2 separate regions of the Homo sapiens genome follow, and region 2 is linked to region 1. Evidence: promoter capture Hi-C in human tissues and cell types (Jung and others, 2019). All regions are on one chromosome and are shown on one strand. Each heading gives the region's core, a stretch centred on a gene start or on the middle of the fragment in contact. The rest is flanking DNA. Distances are from core to core; before and after follow the strand shown.

Region 1 (4,692 bases), core at 608-3,107:
GCACAGTTATGTGTACGCGCACAGTGGCCGAGCGCGGCCCGGGTTCCTGGCCCTGGTCGCTGGCTTCCACCACCAGCTCATAGCTTTCCATGTGCTCGCGGTCCACTCGGCCGCTGGTGCTGATGAGGCCGGAGCGTGGATCAATCTCGAAGGCGGCGGCAGCTGCAGCGCGCGCAGCTGGCGGCCCCACGAAGCGGTAGCGCAGGTTGGCGTTGGGGGGCGCGTCGCCGTCAGTGGCACGCAGCTGCAGGATAGGGTAGCCCTCCTCCACATTCTCGCGAAGGGTCTCCCGGTACTGCGCTTGCTCAAAAACCGGCGAGTGGTCGTTGCGGTCGGCTACTGTCACGGCCACCATCGTGGTGGCCGAGAGGCGCGGCGACCCGTGGTCCTGCGCGGTCACACGCAGGTAGTGACGCTCCATGCTCTCGCGGTCCAGAGCTGCCGCCGTACGGATAAGGCCGCTCTGCGGGTCGATGCTGAACAGCTCCAGCGAGCGGCTGTTCATGAGTGCCGCCAGCGAGTAGACTAGGCGCCCGGCCTCGCCGGCGTCCGGGTCCTGAGCAACCACGCGTAGCACCGCGGTGCCTGCTGCCTCATTCTCCGGCACCAGCGTCTGGTAGTTGTACTGCGGAAACTGCGGGTGGCGGTTTGCGGCGCGACGAAAGCGTGCCCGGTTCGCCGAGGTTACTTTCCTGGCTTCAGGACGGGCCGGGAGTCCCGGGGGACGCGGCCCGGGGCGCTGCGGGAGGAAGCGGCAGCGGAAGAGACCCCGGGAGCGCATGCGCTTGGGCGCCGGCTCGGGAGCTGTCCGAGACTCGCGGGGTGCTGAACCTGATGCAGGAGCTGTCCTCGCCGTGCGTGGTGCTGAATCCAGCTCGGGGCCAGATCCCGAGGCCCCTGGAAGACAGTTCCGCCGGGGGGCTGTCCTTTCTGCTCCGGATGTCGTGGCTCTCTCGCCCTGACCCTTGCTCCCTGTTGCCCATAATTCCCCACAGCAGCGCGCGGTGCCCACTCTTTTGCGGGAGCCTGTCCCAGCGTTCCGCTGGGAGGACACCGGCTTGGGACCGTGGTGCCGAATCAAAAAGTCTGAAGGGAGGGGCGAGCTGTTCCCCGAGCCCGGGACCCCTGAGGACAGAGCCCCTGGTGACAGACTACCTCTTTGCAAAGGTCCTGTCCGCCCGCAAGAGGAGACCTCTGGGCGCCAGTATAACACAGACCCTGGTCCCTGTCCTGTCTCTCGTTCGCGGCTGCCCAATGGCTGGACGCCGTGTTCAATCCCCAGCTCCTCATTCGGCTGCTCAGGGGGCCCTCGACTATTCCGGGCGCTTTGCCTTCTCCCTCGGAGCCCCACGAAGATAGGCTCCCTGACCCCCAGGCCAGGCCCCCCATCCTCCCGGACCCCGGAAGACTCCGGACAAAGAGCTAAGGCTCCGCCACCGATATGCGCCCTTGGCCCCGTAGTGGCAGCTAAGCCTGGGTCCCAGCCCTGGTGCCCACCGCCCCCCAGCTCCTCCTGGCTGAGGGGGAACAAAGAGAGGAGAAGGAGCAGGAGTATGGGGGTCGACCGTCCCCCGAGGCCCCGCCACGGCGGCCGCCTCGCCATCATCCCCCGCCTCCCTGCACGGCCTCCACCGCCCCCCGCCCCGGTCCGGGCCTTGGGCTGGCCCCGCCGCTCGGGCCCCCTCCCGGGCCCCTGCCGCCGCCCCGGGCCCCCGCCCCTCCGCCTGTCTCTCCGCACCCCCGCCGCCCTCTGGGCACCATCTACTCCGCGGCCGGAGCCCCTCCGGCGTGCGGCCCTGGCTTTTTCCGCCCCCACCACAGCATCCCCGACGCTGCTGCCGCCTCCCGCCGCTCCAACATGGCTCCCGGCCGCCCCGATGGTTCGCTCCACCTCTGCCCCGGCGCCCGAAACACGGTGGTACAACCCATCGCGCATGGCAGCTCTGAGGACCGAAGATGTTGCCGCCATCTTTATTGAGGACGTGAGCGTTGCTCCTGGTGCTGAACAGAGCGCGAAGGTTCGCCGTCGTTGGGTCCGCCCTCCCCACTTTCGGTCGCCGCCTTCACCCACCTCCCTCCTTCTAGGGCGCTGTCCCAGCTCCGTCTCCCAGCCTTTTTCTGTCCTTCCAGATCTCTTGTTCCCCCTTCCTGACCACTAGTTCTGAACCGTGTCCCGGATTTTGGTCTGAAATTTTGGTGCCCATGAGCGTTCTCATAGCTCTGGGAGGGGGTACTGTGTGAAATCCTGGGGTAGAGGGGACGATGGCTGGAGAGGGGTCTGGGGTGCCAGCACCCCGAACAATAGCTTTAACTATCCCATCAGCTAGTTTTATGAAACATGTCGCGACCACCTGCTTGTTTGGATCGCCCCTGCGGAGCAGGGACCAGAGATGACCCTCCCGAGGCGGGAGCAGAGGCCAAATTCTTCCCTGCCTTGCTGGTCCCCAGCAGTCTCCCGGGCTCGGGGCCCCTTCACTGGAGGCTGCACCCCCTCCCAGGCTGCGAGTCCCGAGTGCTCTGGGATGCCACGTGGAGCCCGGCGTTGCCCCATGGCTGCGGGCCCCGCTTCTTCGGGTCCCCGCCCCTCGTCCGTCACGACCGCATGCCTTAACCCCTTGAAGGGACTGACACAGAAACTCAGTCCTCCCCCCACCCTCGGTGCATTCCAGCTCTCCCTGCGTAACTCCTGGCACGCGCCGGTCTCGCCAGGCCAATGGGTGGACCTGGCGCAACAGACGTCACGAGAGGAGCGGAGGCGAGGGGTGAACGCGGAGCACTCCAATCGGTCAGTCATTGTTTCTATTGGCACAATGGGAGGCCCCGCCCCTCACGGCGGACTCATCGCATGGGGGAGGGGGCTCCGCGGGTTGCCGGCTAACCGTGAGAGAGTCCGGGAGGTACACTATACGGACCGGCCTCCAAAGGCGGAATCGATAACGAGCTGCAGCGCCGGGTGCAGAGGACGCGGGCATCCCGAAGCCCAGGAAGAGGTCAGGGCCGGGACCCCAGAACGCTCCACAGGGTGCGGCTCCCGCGATGGGGTGGATCCTGGTTCTAACAGGCGAGGAACTCCTGGCCAAGGCCTCTGGCCCGCCCCGAACGGTCCCTATGACATCACCATCAACCAATCAGTCGGCGCATCCTTTCGCCCCTTGACTGCTCCGCTTCCGGGAGGCGGGGCTTCTGCGGGTTCCACCTCCCGAGCGCCCCTTGTGGCTACCAAGGTCAGGCAACAGGTGTCCAGTTGTTCCCTCTCCTGTCTACGAATCTGAGGACCTCCCCAGGATCAGAGCTCTGGGCCTGATACACGGCCGGGGTTCCTACGGGTTTGTGAGTGGGGGTGGAAGATCTGCAGAGGCACTTAGGGCTGAACTCCTTTGAATGGGAGCCAATCGGTGCAGGGGCTGGAGGAGCGAGTCCCCCAAAGTAGTTTTATTTATCTATTTAGAGACAAGGTCTCACTCTTTCGGAGTGCAGTGGTGATCACAGCTCACCGTAGCCTCGAACTCCCCAGGCGATTCTCTCACCTCAGCCTCCCGAGTAGCTGGGACTACGGGTACATGTCATCACACTTGGCTAATTTTTGCATTTTTTATAGAGACAGGGTCTCACCATGTAGGCCAGATTAGTCTTGAACTCCTGGGCTCAAGCAATCCGCCCATCTTGGCCTCCCAAAGTGCTGGGATTATAGGTGTGAGCCACCGCGCCCGGCAACCCAGAAGTGGTTTTGACAGCACCAGCGCTTTCTGTGTCCACAATCTAGTGAGTAGAGGGCACAAAACCTGACACCACGGAGGCAGACAGGCAGGGGCTCTGCCGGGGAAGGGTGTTGGAGTCCCAAAGGAGGCGTCTGAGTCACCTTCGCAACCTGGGACGCCTTCTTGCATAAGATGCCTGAGCAGTGCCTTGAATGACCAAGGGGAGATCCGCATCTGCAAAGGAAGGGCAGGGAGGGATAGGGATTGGGGGTGGGCATCCTAGGTCTTGGAGACTGTGTGGGCAAATGTGCAGAGACATAAAGGGACTATGGCTGAGGGAAATCAAGCCCTGCCCTCTCACCAATAGGGCTGGCGCTGGTCCCAGCTAACACTCCTTTTGGAGAGCAAAGCTCCTCACTTCTGAGTAGTGAGATTGATTGCGGATCACTCTCCATGTTGCTGCCTGCTGTGTGTCATCCCACTGTCATCCTCCCTTTGTGGCTGTTCTGTGGAGCCCCTCTCCCTCAATCTGCACTCACCTCTATGCCCCAGCCCCATTGGCAGCTCCTAATGCACTCCCGGTAAAAAAAAAAAAACAAAAACCAGATGTTAGTGATAGTGGTGGTAGTTCTTCTCTCCACCTCCAAATCTTGCCCTTGCCTCCTAATAAGACCCCTATGTGGTTTAACCTCATTTTTTTTTTTTTTTTTTTTTTTTGAGATGGAGTTTCACTCTGTCACCCAGGCTGGAGTGAAGTGGTGTGATGGGGCTTCACCATGTGATGGGGCTTCACCATGTTGGCCAGGCTGGTATCAAACTCCTGACCTCTAGTGATCTGCCCGCCTCAGCCTCCCAAAGTGCTGGGATTACCGGCATGAGGCACCGTGCCCAGCCTATCCTCCTTCTCTTATCAGCTCCCAACTAGAGGTCCACCCAGGACCCAGAGACCTGGATTTGAGGCTGCTGGGCGGCAGATGGAGCGATCAGAAGACCA
Region 2 (4,692 bases), core at 946-3,445, 680 kb after region 1:
CAACATGGTGAAACCCTGTCTCTACTAAAAATACAAACATTAGCGGGGCATGGTGGTGCATGCCTATAATCCCAGCTACTCGGGAGGCTGAAGCAGGAGAATCGCTTGAACCCGGGAGGCAGAGATTGCAGTGAGCCGAGATCGCGCCACTGCACTCCAGCCTGGTGATGCAGCGAGACTTCGTCTCAAAAAAAAAAAAAAAAAAAAAAAAAAAAAGTATCTCTATGCTGTTTTACAATTAAAACAATCTCTGTGGAGCAACAAAGCATCAACAATTATATTGGTGCATCCTTAAAATTTTATAACCAACAAATGTGAGAGGAGGTCAGGCAGCTTCCCAGAGGTCACAAGGATCCATAAACACATCCATCTCTAAAATGCTATTTTTCTTCCAAATCCCTTGAGCAATACCTTCCATACAATTTTACTGTATGATTTTAGTCTATCTTAAACTTCCTCTACTTCTGCTGAGTATTCTTTATGAACCCTATAGAGGTTAACTTAAAAAGTACCTCTGCTAGGCCGGGCGCAGTAGCTTCCGCCTGTAATCCCAGCACTTTGGGAGGCCACAGCGGGCGATCACCTGAGATCTGGAATTCGAGACCAGCCTGACCAAAATGGAGAAACCCCGTCTCTACTAAAAATACAAAAAAAATTAGCCGGCCGTGGTGGCGCATGCCTGTAATCCTAGCTACTGGGGAGGCTGAGGCAGGAGAATCGCTTGAACATGGGAGGGGGAGGTTGCCGTGACCCGAGATCGCGCCATTGCCCTCCAGCATGGGCAACAAGAGCGAAATTCCTTCTCAAAAAAAAAAAAAAAAAGAAAAGAAAAGAAAAGAAAACACAAAAAAAGTACCTCTGTTTACCCTGCCTTTCACAAACTGGTTAGCTCAAGGTGAATACATAAGCTGTTATCTGTACTCCTCCTAACCCCAATTTTTCTATTCTCCTGCTCAATTCCTCGGCAGATCATCACCACAATGATTTCTTAAAGATAGGTAACACTCGGGCCGAGCACGGTGGCTCCCACCTGTAATCCCAGCACTTTGGGAGGCCGAGGCGGGTGGATCATAAGGTCAAGAGTTTGAGACCAGCCTACCCAACATGGTGAAACCCGGTCTCTACTAAAAATACAAAAAATTAGCTGGGTGTGGTGGCGTGAGCCTGTAATCCCAGCTACTCGGGAGGCTGAGGCAGGAGAATCGCTTGAACCCGGGAGGCGGAGGTTGCCGTGAGCCAAGATCACGCCACTGCACTCCAGCTTGGGCAACAAGAGTGAAACTCCATCTCAAAACAAAACAAAACAAACAAGATGGGTAACAATCATACTCGATGCAAAGTCTAGCCTTAGTTTTTCTACTCCTACACAATTACACCACCCAGGAATCTCTCCAGTAGTACAAAGTATTGTCCCCTCTACTAAACAATCTATTAAGATGCCTAATAACTCAGCCTGGGTCTTCTAAATTCTGGACCCTTCATCTTCTATCTAGCTCCAGGACCTAGGCTATCCTCCTCTCCCACTCCAAGACACTGCTGCCGCAAATATTTTTGACACTTGCTACCAAAATAATCGGGGTTCTCAGACATTTGTTCAGCTTCTGACCTTGACATCTGTTGGCAGTTTACAAGTTACAAAGTATCTACTTCTGATTTTCCCCTCAACCCACTGAGGTCGGTGAGCCAAATATTGCTATCCTGGTTTTAACAGTGAGGAATCCAGGTCTGTGACACCTTCGCCCAAGGTCACACGGCGAGTCCTCATGGTAAAGGGCTCTCCCCACCCTTAGGGTCCCCACCAACCTTCCCCTTCTCCACATCCCTCCTCCTGGCCCCCGCCGGGCCCGCCCCCTAGGGCTCCAAATGAACTGAGACGACACTCAGGCCCCGCCTGCGCTTTCCCAGAGCTGATCCTGGAGTTATTCTCCTGAGGGGCAGGTGTCAGGCTACTCTTCCAGGGTCACTACATACCATCCCCGCCCAGCCCCTACTCTAGCCGAGAAAAAGGAGGCCCCTTTTTCTCGGCCCCTGGTTCTGCATAGAGGAAGAGCGAGCCGGGAGCTCACCACTGCGCCCCGCGTTGGAGTGTGGTCCTCATTAAGGGTCCAAGCTCGGACTTCTGAGTCTCCGCATCCGGTCGCTCACGGCAGCCTCCACCTTCCGCCATCTCCTCCGCGGCCCCGGCCCAGCCGGCCCGGACATCCGCCCCGCGCGCGGCGTGCTATAGACCGCGCCCACGCACGCACGCTCGCGTGCCCGCCCCTGCCCCACCTCGAGCCGCGGCCTTCGGCTCCTGCAGCCGCTGTCTTTTCTCCCCTCCGCTCTCGCGCCACCTAGCTCACCGGCGAACAGTGGAGCGGAAAGGCACACGCGAGAGGGGTGGGCGGGGAGCAGCAGCTGCTACTTCCTCCCGCCCTGCCGCCCGCTACGCGGCCTTCGGGCGCCCCTTCCTCTGCTCAGGATGGCGCTACACTTCGAAGCTCTGTTCAGCCCGCCGATCTCAGGGAGTTAGGCAGCAAGCCCACGACCCATCGGGCACCCCAGCCTGGCCTTCGAGGTTATCGTGGTCCTAAATAAATGCAGGCCAGGTGCGAGAAGCCCGGTAGTTAGGTCTGCTCATTCTCACCCCTGCAATTCCGCTTTCAGCTGGAGGCCTTAGGCGAGTCAGCTGCCCAAACGTGGGATCGGGGCTCCTGCTCCAGCGGCCCTACAGGGATTTCGGGAAGTACCATGTGCACCAGCGCCTTGGGACCAAGACTCAATGGTGTGTTGTAGTCATTAACAGTCGCCTTAAACAGTCGACGCCAGAGCCACCTGGCCCACCGCAGAATTCCGTCAGCTCTTCATACTGAGCTACTTGCCAAGCAGCCACAGAGGGGCGATAGCAACAGGGGAAGGAGAGGTACTCCACATTAGTTACCCAGGCGTGTACTTAGTTCCTGGAACAAGATACAACGTCCTGAACACTATGTTTTCCAGTCGCCCCGCTCACACACACAACCCTCCTCTTGGAGGGAGAAGTAAACCCAGAGGAAAGAGGAAGTCAGGCAGTTGGTCTAGATGCGTCTCCATACACTTGTCTAACAGTCCTTGTCCTCAGAGAAAAATAAGACCTAGTTCCTGCCCTCATAGAATCTAGTAGAAAAGAAGAGATGTTACAGAAATAACCTCAATGCCTAGCAGTATGTGGTAAGTGCCATTAAAGTGTGTGAACCAGGCCGGGCGCGGTGGTTCAAGCCTGTCGTCCCAGCACTTTGGGAGGCTGAGGCGGAAGGATAGGTTCAGCCCAGGAGTTAGAGACCAACCTCGGCAACATAGCGAAATCCCGTCTCTACAAAAAAATACAAAAAATAGCCGGGCAGTGGCTCGCGTCTGTGGTCCCAGGTACTTGGGAGGCTGAGGTAGGAAGATCCCTTGAGCCCAGGAGGTCGAGGTTGCAGTGAGTCGAGATGGCGCCACTGCACTTGAGACTGGACGGCAAAGTGAGACCCTGTCTCAAAAAAAAAAAAATAAATACAAATAAAGGGTGTGAACCGGCCGGGCGCGGTGGCTCACACCTGTAATCCCAGCACTTTGGGAGGCCGAGGCAGGAGGATCACCTGAGGTCGGGCATTCGAGACCAGCCTGACCAACGTGGAGACCGAAATGTCTTAAAAAAAAAAAAAAAAAAAGACCGGGCGTCCGGCGCGGTGGTTCATGTTTGTAATCCTAGGACTTTGGGAGGCCGAGGCGGGCAGATCACGAGGTTAGGAGTTCGAGACCAGCGTGGCTAATATGGTGAAACCCCTTCTCTACTAAAAATACAAAAAAAAAAAAAAAAATTAGCCGTTAGTGGTGGCCCACACCTAGTCTCAGCTACTCGGGAGGCTAAGGCAGAAGAATCGCTTGAACCTGGGAGGCAGAGGTTGCAGTGAGCCGAGATTGCGCCACTGCACTCCAGCCTGGGCAACAGAGCAAGACCCCCTCTAAAAAAAAAAGGGGGTGTGAACCAAAGGCTGTAGAACGCCAGGCACAACCCCTGCTCTCATAGGAAGCCTTTGACTTGAGTAACATTTGAGTGTGGTATTGAAAAAAAATGCTGGCAGAATAAAGATGAGGATGCATGTTACAGGAGGGGAGACTCAAGGGACCAGAAGATAATTTCTGGAAAAGGCAGGACAGGATCAGAGAGTGGGGATTAGGCCAGTTGAGGCGGGCACTACAACGCTACAACAGCCTAAGGGGATCTAAAGCTAGAAAGGAGGCCAGACAGACCATATATCCTGCCTTAAAAGGCAGGCAGGCATTATAGGAAGTTTTGAAGCAGAGACAAAATGGCTGAGGGTGCTTCACGCCCACGGTGGTGTAACTCAGACACAGAACCATTAGGAACCTCTCACTATGGAGGTGGCTGTGAGGGAGAAGAGGAGAAACAGAGAAGCCATGTCTATTTTATTTTATTATTCTTATTTTTCTACCTATTCCTGTTGAAAAGATGAGCTATGTTTTGTGTCGGGGGTGAAGGAAGGGGAACTGGCCCAGTGAAAATACGGTAGGTCATTTGAACAGATTTACTATTTTTATGTTGGGTTTGGCCAATTGAAATTAATTTGCACTCCCTGGGTCATCCATCACACACCATCTGATAAGAAAGGCCTCTTGGCAATTGGGTAGATAGTAGGAGAAAGTAAATATGGAATTAAAACTGCCTTA

What was found. The method cuts DNA at HindIII sites, captures the fragments that hold promoters and counts their contacts. A contact is called where the count stands out against the background at its distance.
Region 2: a contact is called between the fragment with the promoter of USP4 here and the fragment with the promoter of CELSR3 in region 1, in 1 of the 25 tissues and cell types used here (adrenal gland).

What each region holds. Positions count from the first base shown.
Region 1 is chr3:48,661,029-48,665,720 of GRCh38, forward strand. It overlaps CELSR3 (cadherin EGF LAG seven-pass G-type receptor 3), which reads right to left and starts at 1,858. Exons shown (of 35, transcript NM_001407.3): 1 at 1-1,858. The coding sequence starts at 1,606. It overlaps LINC02585 (long intergenic non-protein coding RNA 2585), which reads left to right and starts at 2,740. Exons shown (of 3, transcript NR_111921.1): 1 at 2,740-2,785; 2 at 4,613-4,692. RefSeq lists enhancers at 1-167, 168-752, 1,864-2,053, 1,924-2,509, 2,824-3,183 and 2 more. The HindIII fragment of the contact is 20,539 bases long and covers 1-4,692 here.
Region 2 is chr3:49,337,858-49,342,549 of GRCh38, forward strand. It overlaps USP4 (ubiquitin specific peptidase 4), which reads right to left and starts at 2,196. Exons shown (of 22, transcript NM_003363.4): 1 at 2,067-2,196. The coding sequence starts at 2,167. RefSeq lists a silencer at 2,137-2,326 and enhancers at 2,367-2,866, 2,497-2,666, 2,757-2,816. The HindIII fragment of the contact is 25,899 bases long and covers 1-4,692 here.